Linked DNA regions of Homo sapiens: region 2 is linked to region 1. Evidence: promoter capture Hi-C in human tissues and cell types (Jung and others, 2019). All regions are on one chromosome and are shown on one strand. The core of a region is centred on a gene start or on the middle of the fragment in contact, and the rest is flanking DNA. Distances in the headings are between cores, read along the strand shown.

Evidence for each region. The method cuts DNA at HindIII sites, captures the fragments that hold promoters and counts their contacts. A contact is called where the count stands out against the background at its distance.
Region 2: a contact is called between a fragment that was not itself captured here and the fragment with the promoter of HEPN1 in region 1, in 2 of the 25 tissues and cell types used here (H1 embryonic stem cells and adrenal gland).

What each region holds. Positions count from the first base shown.
Region 1 is chr11:124,915,860-124,920,560 of GRCh38, forward strand. It overlaps HEPN1 (hepatocellular carcinoma, down-regulated 1), which reads left to right and starts at 3,391. Exons shown (of 1, transcript NM_001037558.4): 1 at 3,391-4,701. The coding sequence starts at 3,892. The coding sequence ends at 4,158. HEPACAM (hepatic and glial cell adhesion molecule) reads right to left here. Exons shown (of 7, transcript NM_152722.5): 7 at 3,346-4,701. The region is part of intron 1 of LOC107984406 (a long non-coding RNA gene); the gene reads left to right. The HindIII fragment of the contact is 7,901 bases long and covers 1-4,701 here.
Region 2 is chr11:124,965,440-124,970,140 of GRCh38, forward strand. The region is part of intron 4 of CCDC15 (coiled-coil domain containing 15); the gene reads left to right. Among named protein-coding and RNA genes, the nearest start is that of CCDC15, 14 kb to the left of the region's middle. The HindIII fragment of the contact is 4,673 bases long and covers 517-4,701 here.

The sequences.
Region 1 (4,701 bases), core at 2,141-4,640:
ATCTGCATTAGGGGGCACCCCAAGTCCAGTAACACTGTGGCTCCTGCAGACTTGAAGAGATACCACCCTATGGTCTTAGATAAGATCTAGAAGAATCCTCTGGATTATCAGACATAGACTCTTATTCTCTTCCTTTTCTTTCTCCAAAACAAGCAGTCTCTCTCTCCTCTCCTCTCCTCTCCTCTCCTCTTCTCTCTCCCTTTCTCTCTCTCTCTCCTTCTCTCTCTGTTTGTGCTGAGCTGCCTGGAGCTGGAAGAAGGGTGACACAAGTATCCCTGTGGCCACCATCACTGAGACTGTGCTGCGTCAGACCTGAAGCCAGCACAGCACCAGGTGTCACCAAAGGCCTGTGGTAACCACTGTCTGGCTACCAGCTATGTTCGCTCAAGGCCCTAAGGCTCTAGAGTCAGCAGGTGGCAATGCCAGCCAGGCTTGTATCCATTACTTCAGGGTGCCAAGTTTCCACCAGTCCTGGGCAGGTCCAGAGATGTCACCTGGGAGCCAGGGCCTGGGGTAAGAAACTTTAGGAATCTACCTGGTGCTCTATTTTACTCCAGCTGAGCTGGCACCCAAGCCCAAGGCAATGTCTTTCCCACTCTTCCCTCTCCTTTCCTCAAGCAGAGGTGTCTCTTCCCTTGGTCACCACTGCCCCAGGCCCATGGTCAATACTGCCTGGCTACTGCTGATGTTCATTCATGGATCAAGGGCTCTTGAGTCAGCTTATGAATGCTGCTAAGCATAGGACTCTCCTTTCTAGGCAGTGGGCTCCACTATGGCCACTAGGGCAGGTCCAGAAATGCCATACAAGAGCTAAACCCTGGAATTGGGGACCCCAAGAGCCCACTTGGTTCTCTACCGCACTGAGGCCACACCGGTACCTAAGCTGCAAGACAAAGTCCCCTTTATCCTTCCTTCAACTTTTCTCAAGCAGAAGGAGCCCCTTCCCATAGCCACCACAGCTGGAAAGGTGCTTGGTGACATCTGAAGCCAACATGTCTCTTAGTCTCACCCAAGGCCAATGGCAAGTACTGCTTGGGTTCTATTGCAAATTATTGAGGGCCCTTGGGCTCTAGAGAGAGCAGGTGATGAATGCTGCCAGGACTGGGTCATTCCCTTCAAACCAATGGGTTCCCTTCTGGCCCAGGGTGTCTAGAAATGTTGTCTGGGAGCTAGGGCCTGAAATGGGGGACTCAGGACTCTGTCTTATGCCCTATCCTACTGTGGCTGAGCTTGTCTTATGCCCTGTCCTACTGTGGCTGAGCTGATATCCAAGTTGCAATACACAGTCCTGTTTACTCTTCCTGCTCCTCTCCTCCAACCACAGAAAGGAGTCTTTTTCAAAGCTGCAAGCTGTGATGCCTGGTGTTGGCAGAGGGATGATGCAAGCACTCCCTTGGCTGCACCAGCTGGTGTCTCACTAGATCATATGCTCAAGTCCACTGGCTTCAAGCCCAGCACAGCATCAGGAATCCCCCCTAGAATTGCAGTCCTTGTGTCCTAGACAGACTTTTAAAAGTTTATTTAGGACCCCAGAGCACTTTAACCCATGGTCGTGAGTCTTTTTGGAATTCAGGTTCCAACCACTGGGATGTGTAATTCCTCTCTGGCGAGGGCTGGTCTAAATGCTCCTTCTGTGGGTGCTGGCTGAGTTCTGCCTGGTGTTGTTTCTCCCTGTGACAGGGCAGCACTGCGTTCCAATGCAAAGCCCCACAATGACTGCACTCTCCCTCCCGCAAGTGCAGAGATTCTCTCTCTGTTCCATGCGGCAGCTGCCGGGTGATGAGGGAGGGGTGGTGTCAGCAATTCAAGACTGTCTTTCTTACCTTCTTCAGTGCCTCTTTCAGTGATATGAAGTTAAAACCAGGTATTGTGATCACTCATTGGATGTTTGGTTGTTATGAGGGTGCTTTTTTTGTGTGGACAGTTGTTCAATCTGGTGTTTTTGCAGGAAGACAATCAGTGAAGGCTTCTATTCAGCCATCTTGCTTCACCTCCCTTGGTAATCTCATATTTAATGAGTGCTAAGTACTTTGAGCTCACTGTGCTTTTAAATTTTGTTTTACTTCTGACTGCTTAAAAATTTCCCCCATCTCTGGCAGGGAAGTGGCTCATGCCTGTAATCCCAGCACTTTGGGAGGCCAAGGTGGGCGGATCATGAGGTCAGGAGTTTGAGATCAGCCTGGCCAACATAGTGAAACCCTGTCTCTACCAAAAATACAAAAATTAGCTGGACATGGTGGCACGTGCTTGTAGTCCCAGCTACTCGGGAGGCTGAGGCAGGAGAATCACTTGAACCCAGGAGGCAGAGGTTGTAGTGAGCCTAGACTGCGCCATTGCACTCCAGCCTGGGTGACAAGAATGAGACTCTGTCTGAAAAAAAAAAAAAAATTCCCCCATCTCTTGAAGCCAGCAATGCAAAACAAATATCATTTAAGCAAGACCTAGTTGTTTTGAAACAGGAAGACCTCTCAAACATCTAGTCTCAAGTATTTAGCAGAGAAGTTCCACATATCACTTTTTACCTGTTGCAATCTGGCTTTAACCCCTACTACATGTCTGAAACTACTTATGCCAAGTCACTCAATGTTTTCATTGTTGCCAAATTTAACATGCACTTTTAACTTCATTTCATATGTGAGCCCCCTGCCCTTGTAGTCCCGAATGCTCCCTTTTTCTTGAAACTCTCTTGTTCTTTTGATTGTGTGATATAGTTATCTCCTATATATTCTCCTATCTTGCTGGCTGTGCCTTTTAAGCCTTCTTGGTGAAGTCCTTTTAAATTTTCTACACATACTGATGCCTCAGAAATCTATCTGCAGCTTTCTTCACCTTCTACTTTGTATACTTTCCTGAAATAATTTCATCAACTGCTAGGCTCAGTACCCTGAATTCCCCCCCATCGTGTCTTGCACTTCCAAGCTTTTATACATGCTTCTCCCTCTGCTTGGAGTGTGTCCTCTCATACTTTTAAAAACCAGATTAACTAACAAGTCTTTCTAAGAAAGACTCAACTCAGGTCTGTTCTCCTCCAAGATGCCTTTGCTGACATCTAATCTACATGCTCCCAGAGCACCTTGTATCTACTTCTGCCATTGCATTTTACACACTATATTGTAATCTGTTTACTGATCTGTCTTCCTGACATAGTTATGCTGTATCAGCAGTGTCTAGCACAGGGCCTAGTCCATGGTAGGTAAACAAATGTTTGTCGAATAAATAAAAGAACACCTGAATAAGTAAATGAATGAACGGGTAAGTGATTTTGGAACGGACAATTTGGGGTTTGGAAAGAGGGTAAAGGAGGTGAAAGGAGAAGAAGAGAAATGACTGGTATATTTAAGCAGCTTGTTTTGTTACCCTTGTTTATGTGGAATAAAGTTGTCATTTCATTTCATCAAAAGTTTATTGAGCATCCAGTATGTGCTAGGCACTCTGCTGGATGCTAGTAATACAAAGATGAAGATGAAAACAACACAAAAACAAACCCCACTTCCTTACTTACCCCTCCCCACCCCCAATTTAAGGCAGATTTGGCTTAAGCCTGGCAAGCTGGCCCCTCAGGGATTCAGCACCAGGGTATGGCATGTTCTCATCTCACCCTAACCTTCACCTGTGCATCTCAAGGCTGACCAGCAGGTACTCCTTATCCAAGTCCTGCTGCCTCTTCCACCTTCTTGAGAAACTTTTCCCCTACATGCATTATCTCATTATGGATGAGGCACCTGGGAAGTTTAGGGGAGCTGCGAAGGCACACCTGCTCAAATGAGCCTGGGGAAGTGCCGAGGGACAGGGAGCTGAGACAGGCATGCTGTGGGGTTCAGGGCAGAGGGGGCAAACTAGAAATGTCAGTGCCTTTGGGGCTGAGACAAAACTTGACCTGGTGTGGAGGTGATGGGTAACTGGGGCCTTGGAATTGCTCCATGGGTTGATGGCGAATCAGAGCTGGAGTTTAGGAGACTAGGGATGCAAGGACCCTTGGAGGCATTAAGGAGGAGGGAATGGAATACACAGAGGGCCTCCTTCTCTTTCAGCTTTTTAATTGCCCTCTCTCCTCACACAGTAGATTACTGCCACTCCTATGAACTGTTCAATAGGCGGTGGCATGGGCATGTCCTGGCTACACAGCGGCCCAGCCTCTTTATTTTGATGTTAGTGTGATTAGGGAGTCTGCCCTTTTTCTGTGCCCTGGGACCTGAGCATGTGGGAGCAGGGCAGATGGGTGGCAGGAGGCCAGGGGTTGGATCATGTTCCCCCCAAATGCTGGGAAGCAATAAGCCTCCTCCTCCCCCCACCATTTCTCTGGAGATTAGGACTTATTCTCACAGCTGGAGGAAGCTCAACAACTTTCCTGAGGACAATGATTGTTTGAAAGGCTTGTTTTGTAAGGAAGCCAGGAGGAATATATGAGTTTGATGAGCTAAAACAGTTCCTCATTTGGTCTAGTTTTCGGGCCAGGGGAGTAAGTGAAATTCACTTCTCTATAAGAATAAGCCCATCCATCTCTTTTATTCATGAACAGAGACAGAAAGAGTGCTTGGCATGGCATGCCTCCGAGGGAGGCTGTGGGAGGAGGCCAAGCTGGCAGGCTCGGGTTCTTTGCCCTTGCTAGCGCCCAGGTCAGAGGGAAAAGGAATGTACTCGTACCCTTCCCTCACCACCTTGTAGGTCCCCAGGTACCAGGTGCCCAGGGAAGAAGGCCTT
Region 2 (4,701 bases), core at 1,603-4,102, 49 kb after region 1:
TAGTATTCTCTGATGGTAGTTTGCATTTCTGTGGGATTGGTGGTGATATCCCCTTTATCATTTTTTATTGTGTCTATTTGATTCTTCTCTCTTTTCTTCTTTATTAATCTTGCTAGCGGTCTATCAATTTTGTTGATCTTTTCAAAAAACCAGCTCCTGGATTCATTGATTCTTTGAAGGGTTTTTGTGTCTCTATCTCCTTCAGTTCTACTCTGATCTTAGTTATTTCTTGCCTTCTGCTAGCTTTTGAATTTGTTTTCTCTTGCTTCTCTAGTTCTTTTAATTGTGATGTTAGGGTGACGATTTTAGATCTTTCCTGCTTTTTCTTGTGGGCATTTAGTGCTATAAATTTCCCTCTACACACTGCTTTAAATGTGTCCGAGAGATTCTGGTATGTTGTGTCTCTGTTCTCATTGGTTTCAAAGAATATCTTTATTTCTGCCTTCATTTTGTTATTTACCCAGTAGTCATTCAGGAGCAGGTTGTCCAGTTTCCATGTAGTTGTGTGGTTTTGAGTGAGTTTCTTAATCCTGAGTTCTAATTTGATTGCACTGTCATCTGAGAGACAGTCTGTTGTGATTTCTGTTCTTTTACATTTGCTGAGGAGTGCTTTACTTCCAACTATATGGTCAATTTTGGAATAAGTGCGATGTGGTGCTGAGAAGAATGTATATTCTGTTGATTTGGGGTGGAGAGTTCTGTAGGTGTCTATTAGGTCCACTTGTTGCAGAGCTGAGTTCAAGTCCTGTATATCCTTGTTAACCTTCTCTCTCGTTGATCTGTCTAATATTGACAGTGGGGTGTTAAAGTCTCCCATTATTATTGTGTGGGAGTCTAAGTCTCTTTGTAGGTCTCTAAGGAATTGCTTTATGAATCTGGGTGCTCCTGTATTGGGTGTATATACATTTAGGATAGTTAGCTCTTCTTGTTGAATTGATCCTTTTACCGTTATGTAATGGCCTTGTCTCTTGATCTTTATTGGTTTAAAGTCTGTTTTATCAGAGACTAGGATTGCAACCCCTGCTTTTTTTTTTTGTTTGTTTTCCATTTGCTTGGTAGATCTTCCTCCATCCCTTTATTTTGAGGCTATATGTGCCTCTGCACGTGTGATGGGTCTCCTGAATATAGCACACTGATGGTCTTGACTCTTTATTCAATTTGCCAGTCTGTGTCTTTTAATTGGGGCATTTAGCCCATTTACATTTAAGGTTAATATTGTTATGTGTGAATTTGGTCCTGTCATTATAATGTTAGCTGGTTATTTTTCCCATTAGTTGATGCAGTTTCTTCCTAGCATCGATGGTCTTTACAATTTGGCATGTTTTTGCAGTGGCTGGTACTGGTTGTTCCTTTCCATGTTTAGTGCTTCCTTCAGGAGCTCTTGTAAGGCAGGCCTGGTGGGGAGAAAATCTCTCAGCATTTGCTTCTCTGTAAAGGATTTTATTTCTTCACTTTTGAAGCTTAGTTTGGCTGGATATGAAATTCCGGGTTGAAAATTCTTTTCTATAAGAATGTTGAATATTGGCCCCCACTCTCTTCTGGCTTGTAGAGTTTCTGCCGAGAGATCCGCTGTTAGTCTGATGGGCTTCCCTTTGTGGGTAACCCGACCTTCTCTGGCTGACCTTAACATTTTTTCCTTCATTTCAACCTTGGTGAATCTGACAATTATGTGTTTTGGGGTTGCTCTTCTCGAGGAGTATCTTTGTGGTGTTTTCTGTATTTCCTGAATTTAAAGGTTGACCTGCCTTGCTAGGTTGGGGAAGTTCTCCTGGATAATATCTTGACGACTGTTTTCCAACTTGGTTCCATTCTCGCTGTCACTTTCAGGTACACCAATCAAACATAGATTTGGTCTTTTCACATAGTCCCATATTTCTTGGAGGCTTTGTTCATTTCTTTTTATTCTTTTTTCTCTAAACTTCTCACTTCATTTCATTAATTTGATCTTCAGTCACTGATACCCTTTCTTCCACTTGATCAAATTGGCTACTGAAGCTTGTGCATTCGTCACGTAGTTCTCGTGCATGGTTTTCAGCTCCATCAGGTCATTTAAGATCTTCTCTACACTGTTTATTCTAGTTAGCCATTCGTCTAATCTTTTTTCAAGGGTTTTAGCTTCCTTGCGATGGGTTCAAACATCCTCCTTTAGCTCGGAGAAGTTTGTCATTATTGACCTTCTGAAGCCTACTTCTGCCAACTAGTCAAAGTCATTCTCCATCCAGCTTTGTTCCGTTGCTGGCGAGGAGCTGTGATCCTTTGGAGGAGAAGAAGTGCTCTGGTTTTTAGAATTTTCAGCTTTTCTGCTCTGGTTTCTCCCCATCTTTGTGGTTTTATTTACCTTTGGTCTTTGATGATGGTGACCTACAGATGGAGTTTTGGTGTGGATGTCCTTTTTGTTGATGTTGATGCTATTCCTTTCTGTTTGTTAGTTTTCCTTCTAACAGTCAGGTCCCTCAGCTGCAGGTCTGTTGGAGTTTGCTGGAGGTCCACTCCAGATCCTGTTTGCCTGGGTATCACCAGTGGAGGCTGCAGAACAGCAAATATTGCAGAACAGCAAATATTGCTGCCTGATCCTTCCTCTGGAAGCTTCGTCTCAGAGGGCACCTGGCTGTGTGAGGTGTCAGTCGGTCCCTACTGGGAGGTGTCTCCCAGTTAGGCTACAGGAGGGTCAGGAACCCACTTGAGGAGGCAGTATGTCCGTTCTCAGAGCTCAAACTTCATGCTGGGAGAACCACTGCTCTCTTCAGAGCTGTCAGACAGGGACGTTTAAGTCTGCAGAAGTTTCTGCTGCCTTTTGTTCAGCTATGCCCTGACCCTGGAGGTGGAGTCTACAGAGGCAGACAGGCCTCGTTGAGCTGCAGTGGGCTCCACCCAGTTCGAGCTTCCTAGACACTTTGTTTACCTACTGAAGCCTCAGGAATGGCGGACGCCCCTCCTCCAGCCAGGCTGCTGCCTCGCAGTTTAATCTCGGACTGCTGCGCTAGCAGTGAGCAAGGCTCTGTGGGTGTGGGACCTGCCAAGCCAGGTGCGGGGTATAATCTCTTGGTGTGCCATTTGCTAAGACTGTTGGAAAAGCGCAGTATTAGGGCGGGAGTGTCCCGATTTTCCAGGTACCATCTGTCATGGCTTCCCTTGGCTAGGAAAGGGAAATCCCCCGACTGCTTGCACTTCCTGGGTGAGGCGATGCCCCACCCTGCTTCGGTTCACCCTCCGTAGGCTGCACCCACTGTCCAGCCAGTCCCAAGGAGATGACAGGTAGCTCAGTTGGAAATGCAGAAATCTACCTGTCTTCTGCGTCGATCACGCTGGGAGCTGCAGACCGGAGCTGTTCCTATTCAGCCATCTTGGAATGGACCCCCCAATTCTTTTTATATTATCTCCATATGTGGCCATCTAATTCCTGCCACAACACCTCCACTATTGGACAACTCATTACTTTTTCAGACTGATCATTTTATTTTTAGAAGACTTGAAATTATTGCAACTATTTTTTCAACATGTTGAGTCAAAAATCTTCCTCCCTATAACTTTTATCCATTGGTCTTAATTTTGCCCTCTCAGGTAATAAAAAATAAGATAGCATCTGAGAGCACTTCAAGTATTTGATTATAGTTATCATTTTTCTTTTTTGGGTTTCTATATTCCTAATGCCTTATTGATTTCTTCTGAATACTATTTTGTTTTTCAATATTCTTCTGAAATAGGACCTCAAAAACAACACAATACTGTATTTTAAATATGATTTGGCCACTAGTGCTCTTAATCCGCACCCCTTACCTCACCCTCTGCTTGATAATACTTGGTATTACCTACTTGTTCAAAGGTCAGTTAAGATTAGTTGCCTAAAGGTAGGAGCTAGAATTGTAGACTGGAAGAAATTTCAAGTGTCTTATAATATATAGAACCAGTATTTTGTTTTCATTAGGACTGATATTTATCTTTAGGGATTCAGTTTCTGTGATGTCCCTTGAAAGCGGCATTTTGGTGAGGAATTGAAGAACAACTGATCATTGTTTTAGTCTTACCATATAATAACTTTTTATTGATCTGTCCCTATTCAGTTTGCTACTGTTTTCTAGCATGGTTTATTCCAGCTTTTTGTTTCTCACTGAATCTTTTACTATCTTATTTCTATTTTTATTCTCTCTTTACAGTGCTAGTTTTCCAGCTTTTTAAAACCATGGAAATAATTACTTTTTGTAGTAAAGCTTTAAGTAATGTGAAATAGCCTGCTAAATTCTTGTAATCTACCATTGAAAAAACTAGTATTTCAGTCAGACACTTTTGCCTGCAAGAACTCAGGCTAACCCAAACAAGGGGAAAGTTTATTTGAAGAATACACATGGGTTAATAAGGGAAGAATCAGAATCTCACACAAATCCAAACTCCTTTGAGGAATGCAACTGGAGAGTTTTTCTGGATGTGAGTTTTTCTGGATGTGAGCTCCAGTGACCCCAAGAGCATGAGATATTTGATCTTCACACTAATATTTAATCAGTAGCTTGATTGATTCAGTTCTTCTCATAGGGTGACCAACCTTCCCTATTGGTCTAAGATCGAGGGGTTTCCAGGACATGGGACTTTTCAGTGCTAAAACTGAGACAGTTCTAGGTAAACTAGTATAGTTGGTCACCTTGTTTCTACATGTATGCTTCCCTCTTATTTTCTCATTTCTCTACCATTAACTGGTATTGTCATCTC